3 separate regions of the Homo sapiens genome follow, and all the other regions are linked to region 2. Evidence: promoter capture Hi-C in human tissues and cell types (Jung and others, 2019). All regions are on one chromosome and are shown on one strand. Each heading gives the region's core, a stretch centred on a gene start or on the middle of the fragment in contact. The rest is flanking DNA. Distances are from core to core; before and after follow the strand shown. Region 1 overlaps FAM13A (family with sequence similarity 13 member A). Region 2 holds the start of PIGY (phosphatidylinositol glycan anchor biosynthesis class Y). Region 3 overlaps FAM13A (family with sequence similarity 13 member A).

Evidence for each region. Contacts are between HindIII fragments. The study calls those that stand out against the background at their distance.
Region 1: a contact is called between a fragment that was not itself captured here and the fragment with the promoter of PIGY in region 2, in 2 of the 25 tissues and cell types used here (mesenchymal stem cells and mesendoderm cells).
Region 3: a contact is called between a fragment that was not itself captured here and the fragment with the promoter of PIGY in region 2, in 2 of the 25 tissues and cell types used here (IMR-90 fibroblasts and aorta).

What each region holds. Positions count from the first base shown.
Region 1 is chr4:88,786,116-88,788,815 of GRCh38, forward strand. FAM13A (family with sequence similarity 13 member A) reads right to left here. Exons shown (of 24, transcript NM_014883.4): 10 at 1,638-1,817. Among named protein-coding and RNA genes, the nearest start is that of FAM13A-AS1, 78 kb to the left of the region's middle. The HindIII fragment of the contact is 8,280 bases long and covers 1-2,700 here.
Region 2 is chr4:88,522,432-88,525,213 of GRCh38, forward strand. It overlaps PIGY (phosphatidylinositol glycan anchor biosynthesis class Y), which reads right to left and starts at 1,345. Exons shown (of 2, transcript NM_001042616.3): 1 at 1,067-1,345. PYURF (PIGY upstream open reading frame) reads right to left here and starts at 1,345. Exons shown (of 2, transcript NM_032906.5): 1 at 1,067-1,345. The coding sequence starts at 1,269. PIGY-DT (PIGY divergent transcript) reads left to right here and starts at 1,379. Exons shown (of 2, transcript NR_134663.1): 1 at 1,379-1,501; 2 at 2,334-2,560. It also overlaps a transcript of HERC3 not described here. RefSeq lists an enhancer at 643-702. The HindIII fragment of the contact is 23,527 bases long and covers 1-2,782 here.
Region 3 is chr4:88,892,269-88,894,968 of GRCh38, forward strand. The region is part of intron 6 of FAM13A (family with sequence similarity 13 member A); the gene reads right to left. Among named protein-coding and RNA genes, the nearest start is that of FAM13A, 160 kb to the right of the region's middle. The HindIII fragment of the contact is 3,437 bases long and covers 1-2,700 here.

The DNA of each region.
Region 1 (2,700 bases), core at 88-2,587, 260 kb after region 2:
GTGAGGCTGTGTTTCACATTTCCCTGCCCTGTCTGGCCCCTATCTGTTTCTACCTCCACTGTCCTCCCCCAGACCTGCTGCCAAGCATCCACCAACAGCACCATCACTCTCTGTTCTCTCTCATGCTCCCCACCACTTCCCACCTCCACCTGCTAGCCCTCTGTCCAAACAAAGAGGGTGGAAAGCAGGATATCGTGACACACTGAGGATATTTTTAAAATGCAAAATGTTGCTACATACTCCTCAGCAAAAAATGAGGCAGAGGATAAGAACAGTGTTAAATGAATAATTTGTGCTTTCTCTATAACACATTAGAGGTAGTACACAAACTAATTATACTTCTAAACACTTTCTATAAACATGTCAGTAGCTAATTTTAAATGTAAATATCTCATGTCATGCCACAGGAGAAGAAATGTAAATATCTCCTATATTATACTTTTTCTATTTTCTAAATGGAATATTACAACTATTCTATCCACCAGCTCCATGAAAATTTATTTTAAAAGTACTGCACATGCTACTTGTAAATCAGTGGGTTATATTATTGATACTGCTTTATTTCTAAAATTACATTTGCTAATATAGCTCTTAAACATCTCGGTGAGGTATAGCATGAAACTTATTTATACTGTTTATCTTTTATGTTTTTCTTTAAGCGAAAAAAAGTTTTTTTTCTTTTTCCATAAAGGGTTTAATGTAGATTATGAGTCAAAGTGAAAAAGAATGCGAATGAGGGGTGTGGGACTATTATATATTCATAAAGATTAAAAATTAAGAAAAGAAAGAAAAAGAATGAGGGGTGCTAGGGTCTGGTTCAGGTTAGTTTCTGACATTTAATAAGGAGTCATTATTAAACCATAAAGAGGCTAAAGGCCATAGTCAATAAAAATAACCTTGGAACTTTCAGGGAAAATATATGAATATCTGTATAGTCTATTCTCTATATAAATTTATTTTCCTTGACAATTTAAGTCATGATTATTAAATAATATAAATGGTAATTGTTCATCTGTATTTTATTAAATCTTTTCATGGAGAATAAAGCTCTTTGTAACACTATTCTTAAAATTCATACTATGGGAATGCCTTAAAATTAGTGATTATTATAATAAACAACTTAAGCTTTTCATTTTTTGAGTAGATTTAAGCCCAACCTTTCTTATACTAAAACATAATCAAATGTCAGAGTATTATAGGGATATCTGACTATTTAATCACATAAATATAATGGAGAAATCAGCTGCTCCATAAACAAGTCTAAATAGTCAACTTAATGTTGTCTAGCAAGAAAAAAAATACCTCTGGACAAGCATATGGTAACTTTCTCTGCCCATGGTTCAGAATCCCTCTAAATAAGATATTTATGAGGAAGCCATAGGGTGTATTCAATCAGAGGTGGCTTCTAACAACATACCAAATGTCTGGATGAAACGGAAATATTTATGCAATTACCTATGAATTTCCAAATGTAGCTAAGTTTAGAATGGACAAACTGATAACTCTTAAAGTTTTAACCTAAATACTGAAATGGGAGAGGACCAGGAGGTATGACTATAACACAGCGACTAATTTGGGTGTATATTTCTTTTAAAAAGAGAAAACTCAAGTAAGAGGAAGAATCAATGCCAACTCACTTGTCTCTCCCATGTCGAACTTCATCCTGCTCCTTGGACTGGCGGCGGCGCTGTCTGGCAGATGTGGCAGAAGATGCTGATAGTGTTCCAGATTCTGAGTCCTCTGAACTTTGACCTCCAGAGTTATTAACATCAAAAAGATGTTGTTCTACAGCTGATCGGATGGTTCTTTCTAAGAGTCTGGCAAAAAAGAATGCAGAGTCATTCAAGCAGTCAAGTTCATCAGTGATCACCTTAAAAAATCTGTGCCTACAGTTTTGGGAACATCTGTATTTCCAGTGGAAAGTCTTTAGAACTTCATAAGCAAAGAGAGATGATGAGGCATTAATCTAAAAAATATCTGCATTATGTGTTAAAACCAAAACTAAACGAAAACAATTCTGCCAATTTAACAACTTTCTCATCTTTGTGAAGCCAGTATTGCTGAAATGCTCATGGCAAGTCTAGCAACAATTATGAGGCATTCAGGAAACAGGGGTCAATCAATATAAGGAAGAATGAGGAAAGATTTTTTTTGCCCTCATAGAATAATAGTAGACCTATTCTTACAAAGGCAATTTCATACCAATTCTACAGAGGAAGAGAGAGTGATTTGCAAAGCAAACTGGCACAAATAATTTTATGATGCCTATTATCTATTTACAATCTAAGACAAAATTATATGAAAATAATGATATTTTGGGAAAAAACTCACCAGAACAATTAGAACTCACAACAGCATGGCATAATCTTTCCTAACCTCTATTCAATTAAATTGTGATGTTTATAATTAAAGCTGTATTCATGCAAACACCCCAGAACATATTACTGAAATTGGAAGGATAGATTTACTTTGTTCAACATGAGGAAAACACATAAGCACAAAGTGCTGAAAAGTGCATGGTAAGCTAGAAATGGAATCATTTTTAAAGCTGTAGAATCTTTCAAGGTGTGTATACCTTTTAGCACCACATTATTTCCAAATAAGCTGGTATGGAAAGCTCTTAACTCAGAGTCCTCAAACCTTGTTTTTCTTCGCTTGAAAAAGAACTATATATATATGTTCTAAATGCTCAGGCTGAGA
Region 2 (2,782 bases), core at 95-2,594:
CTAAGTAGAGAAACTTAACTAATCCATTAGAAGGAAATCACTGGAAAAGGTGAGAGGGCAGAAATGAAGAAACTTTCGAAAGCACTAAGTCTGCAGTGAGCTAGTTATAAACGTAAATCAAATGATAATTTCAAGGTTCGAGAAAATTGAATAATATGTTTATTACGGGAAAAAGAAATACGAAAAATTGCTAGCAATCTACCATTCAAAGATAACCACTGATAACATTTTGGTGTTTATGCGATTTGTAATACTAGCGTTAGTGTTGTCAATATTCAATTTTGGTAGCTTGGAAACTGTAGAGCTGTCTTCCCAAAAACTAGTTAAAGAGGCTTCTACGAAACCTGCTAGGCCACAACTAAGAGCCACTGGGCAGCAAACACAGCTGAATTGCTTAAGATTGTCAGGCACCAGTTGTACAAGACACTTTCACAAGAATCTGGAGGGTACAACAATACTTTTCATTATCTTGGCTTAAAAACCGGAAGGCTTCGGACTTGTCCTGAATCGCAGTGGTTCATAAACCTGGTGGTACATTAGAAATCATTTAGGGACCGTTTAAGAACACAGATAAGCTGGGCGTGGGGGCGGCGCCTGTCTCTCGACTCCTGAGGAGGCTGAGGCGGGAGTTCTAGGCCAGTCTGGGCAACGTAGGGGGCACCCTGTCTCTTAAAAGGAAAAAAAAAAAGGAAAAGAAAATACAAATGTTCAGGTCCCATCCCGCGAGCATTCCAAGTCTGCCCGTCTTGGGGGCTGTCGGGGAATCGGCATTTTTAAAACGGTCCCCGGGTGATTGCAATGCGCAGCCGGTCGCGAACCCTAAAACGCTTCGAGCCATTCCCGCAGGCTGGCGTTGCGTTCTGGGAGATGTGGGACGCAGCTCCCCTGGCCTCCGGTCTCCCCCGTCCTGCCCGCTGTGCGCCCGGCGAGGACAGAGTCCAGAATGTGGCAGCGGAGAGTACCTGACCGACCTACAAGGCCCCAGTGGCTGCAAGAGGCCGCGGTCCACCGCTCCCTTTCCGCCCACCGGGAGGCTGCAAAGGAAGGGCCAAGGCCAGCGAGTTACCTGAGCGGCTTCTTGGAGAGCGGGCACACCAGGAACTCCAGCAGCGCCGGATCGAAGTCGCGGGGCGGCTCCTCAGTCTTCTTGCCCCGGTCGGCCAAAGGCCGCGACCCCGACGCGTGCAGGCACCTACGGGCGACCGCGGACGGCGGCGCGCGCGTTCCCCGCAGCGCTGAGGCGAGCCTGCAGCGTGCTCCACTCAGCATGGTCTGGCAGCCGGAGACCAGGCCTCACCGCAGCCTCGCCACCCGTGGCCGAGCTCCCGGCTTCCCGTTCGTCCAGGCCAGCCGGGCAGGCCCCGCCCCCTGGTCCTCCAGGAAACGCTGCCGAGGAGTAGGCGGGGCGGGCGCTTTGGTTCCGAGGGTGCTTCTGCTCCGACTGCTTTTCCCACGGGCGTCATCTATAGTCCGGAGGACAGCCCCAGGGCAGAGGCCTCTGGTGAGTGCCCCGCCGCCTTACCAGACTACAAACTAAACCAGTGTTTAAGTCAAGGTGTCTGGGTTTTCACCGGGGCCTGTCCAAGGATGCTAGGAAGCCAGTGGCCAGGCCTCAGAGTTGTAGGGAGTTAGGCTTGGACCTACGTGGTTACCTCCAAGTGAAGTTTCAAACACACTGTTATGTATTGTACCGAATGTATTGTCATGGATGTATTGAAAGCGCTCATTTGTTTCATGTACATCTTTACTATACCATTAGTTTCTGTAACCTTGTTTGGCTTTTTTCTCTCTCATTAAAAAAAGTGAGAACCTGGAAGGAAGGGCCTAGGCCTCTGACCCTCCAAAATATATAAATTCTTCCTGCCTGAGACCCAGTCATTGTGAAGTATTTGCGTAATAAAGCACAGCTAATTTACTTCTATAAATGAGCTTGGAGGCCGCAAGGGGCCTAAATAGCTGTGTAACAGGCAGATGTGATCTGCCTGTTAAAGATCCATTCAATGAGTGGGTGATCCATTCAGTGAATTTGTATCCCAGGTTTGCTTCCCACTCTCCAAGAAAGTGACCATGTTAGATCTCTTTCTTACAGTGTAGTAGATGGGAACTTGGGCTCTGGGGCCTGACAGCTTGGTTCCCTGTCCACAATTAGTAGCTGGATGACTTTGGCAAATGACTTAACTGCTCATTTTCCTTATCTGTATAAGACTAATAATTGTACCTACCTTGTAGGTAGGGCATAAATGTGATTGTGCATTCGAAGAACATTTAGAAAAGTGCCTGGCACAAATTAATGCTCCATTAATGTTGTCTATTTTTATTTTTAGTTCATCTAGTTTTTCCATGTCCGAAGACTCAAAGATTCTCATTAGTCATCCATTTTTTCCCTCCGTTCTGCTGAATATCAACCTGAACTTTTTTTTTGCATCACTGGGCATTATCATTTCACACTTTGAGTTCCTGGAGCTGGAAGTACAGAATCCAAAAATATGTTTATATTTTCAAATTTCTCTTCCACTCCAATGTAAAAATAAACTGACAAATGTTTATATGTTCATCCTAATTTTTTGTTTGTTTTTTGGGCCATCCTGTTTTTTTTAAAAAAAACAGTTTATTTTTTGATGTTCTTTGTTCACTAATGCTCAGAAGATTTTCTAAGGTTAATGTAGTTTATAGGATACCAAAAAGGAAACACTTCTACTGGATAGATATTTAAGAGATAATGAAAGTCTCTGGTTGCCTCACCTTCCTTCCCTCACAAAGCAATCTTTCACAGTCATAACTT
Region 3 (2,700 bases), core at 21-2,520, 370 kb after region 2:
TCCCGGGTTCACACCATTCTACTGCCTCAGCCTCCCGAGTAGCTGGGACTACAGGCGCCCGCCACCACGCCTGGCTAATTTTTTGTATTTTTAGTAGAGATGGGGTTTCACCATGTTAGCCAGGATGGTCTCGATCTCCTGACCTCGTGACCTGCCCGCCTCGGCCTCCCAAAGTGCTGGGATTACAGGCGTGAGCCACTGCACCTGGCCCTGTCTTCTAAAAGAAAGAAACAACAACAACAAAAATACTGACGCCAACTACTTTCATACAAAATAAAAGTAGCAGTTGAATAATTTATTTGTTCACTTTCAAGTCTTTATTAAGGGTCCACTATGTGTCTGGCATTCTAAAATAATTATTTTTTTAAGTGCCAAGATCATACTTAAAAGTCAGATGTAGAAATTTTCCCTTAAAATCTGGGAGTAAGTCAAGGAGGCATGCTATCACCGCTTTTACCTAACCTTGTACTGAAAGCACTACCAACACAGTAGGACAAAACCAAAAGAAAGAAAAAAAGAAAACAAGTCAAATGATAAAAGGCTTGAAAAAGAATAAACAATGCTCATTATTTTTTGCTGATATTACATTATTTTTAGTTGATACAATATTGATTTATTTGATCATATTAAAAAAATCTTTTATACATTAAAAGGTACTATATTCAATATGAAAAGAAAACCAAAAAACTGAGAAAAGGTACTTTGAATACATACAACTGATAACAGCTAACAAACAAACTCTTACAAATCATTAAAAAAGTGATAATCCAATAGTAAAACTATCAGTGATAGAAGAAAGCAGCACACAAATTAATCATCACAGATATGATCAAAGCTTAATAAACATATGACAACATAAACATATGAAAAACTGCCCATTTGTATTAATCAGGATAGACTTGATTATGATGAGTTTACAAATTAAACCCCAAATCTCAGTAGCTTCACAAAACAGAGGTTTATTTTTTGGTCATGACACAGATCCAAAACAGGTTGACAGGGGGCTCTGCTCCACAAAGAAACGAAAAGGTCCATGCTCCACTGTGCAGCTGCCGTACAATAAGAAACAGTTCAGGCTGGGTGCAGTGGCTCACGCCTTTAATCCCAGCACTTTGGGAGGCCAAGGCGGGCGGATCACGAGGTCATGAGATTGAGACCATCTTGGCTAACACGGTGAAACCCCGTCTTACTAAAAATACAAAAAATTAGCTGGGCGTGGTGGCGGGCGCCTGTAGTCCCAGCTACTCAGGAGGTTGAGACAGGAGAATGGCGTGAACCCAGGAGGCGGAGCTTGCAGTGAGCCGAGATTGTGCCACTGCACTCCAGCCTGGGCGACAGAGCCAGACTCTGTCTCAATGAATGAATGAATGAATGAATAAATAAATAAATAAATAAATAAATAAGCCGGGCGTGGTGGCGGGCGCCTGTAGTCCCACCTACAGCTAGCTACTCGGGAGGGTGAGGCAGGAGAATGGCGTGAACCCGGGAGGCGGAGCTGCAGTGAGCCGAGATCGCGCCACTGCACTCCAGCCAGGCTGATGGAGCGAGACTCCGTCTCAAAAAAAAAAAAAAAAAGAAACAGTTCAAGAGTTACGCACAAGCTTTTGGATTCTCTCCTGAAGTAACACTATATTGACCCAAAGTAGTTGACTGGCCCGACCTAACTGCAAAGGGGCTGGGAAACACATGGATATTCAGTGTCTCTGGCACAACTAGAAATTAGTGCAATCCAAATTAAGGCAATAGCAAGATGCATCTTATAACCATTAGGTTGAGAAAAAGCAGTAACAACAAAAACTCCTATTACCAAGGACTGGTGAGGATGTGAAAAATGGAAGCAGTCATATACAGATGTTAGCATGTAAATTGATGCAACATCCTAAGAGCATTTGAAATGTCCTGACAAGTTAAAGATGCACATGCTTACGATCTAATATTTCCATGTGCATAGAATGAGTCACATGAAAATTATTCACTTAAAAATATTTGTAATAGCAAACTATTGGAAGTGACTTAAATATTGGAGACAATCTAAGTATTGGGGAAAAATTAGAATAACAACCATATTCTTACTGAAAGTTAATATTGACAGCATATTGAACAGAAAAAAAATGAAGCCACAGAAGGCAACACACTATGTACTATTTTTATATAATGTTTTAAAACATGCAAAGACTATAGCATATATTATGTATAAGTATATATATAGATATGCAGTGTTCCTATAATAACATGCATGGAAATGATAAGTATTAATTTTATTTTTATTTTTTGATACAGAGTCTCACTCTGTCACTCAGGCTGGAGTGCAGTGGCAATCTTGGCTCACTGCAACCTCAGCCTCCCAGGTTCAAGCAATTCTTGTGCCTCAACCTCCTGAGTAGCTGAGATTACAGGCATGCGCCACCATGGCCGGCTAATTTTTGTATTTTGAGTAGAGACAGGGTTTTGCCAAGTTGGCCAGGCTGGTCTAGAACTCCTGGCCTCACGTGATCCACCCACCTCAGCCTCCTATAGTGCTGGAATTACAGGCATGAGCCACCACACATGGCCTAATTTAATTTTTCAATAGTGTTAATTTGAGAGAGGAAAGATGGTACATTAGGATACATCAGTCATATCCTTTAATTCTAAAGCTACTTATATCCTTTAATTCTACCATAGGTAATAAAATCTAAGAAAATAATACTATTCCATATT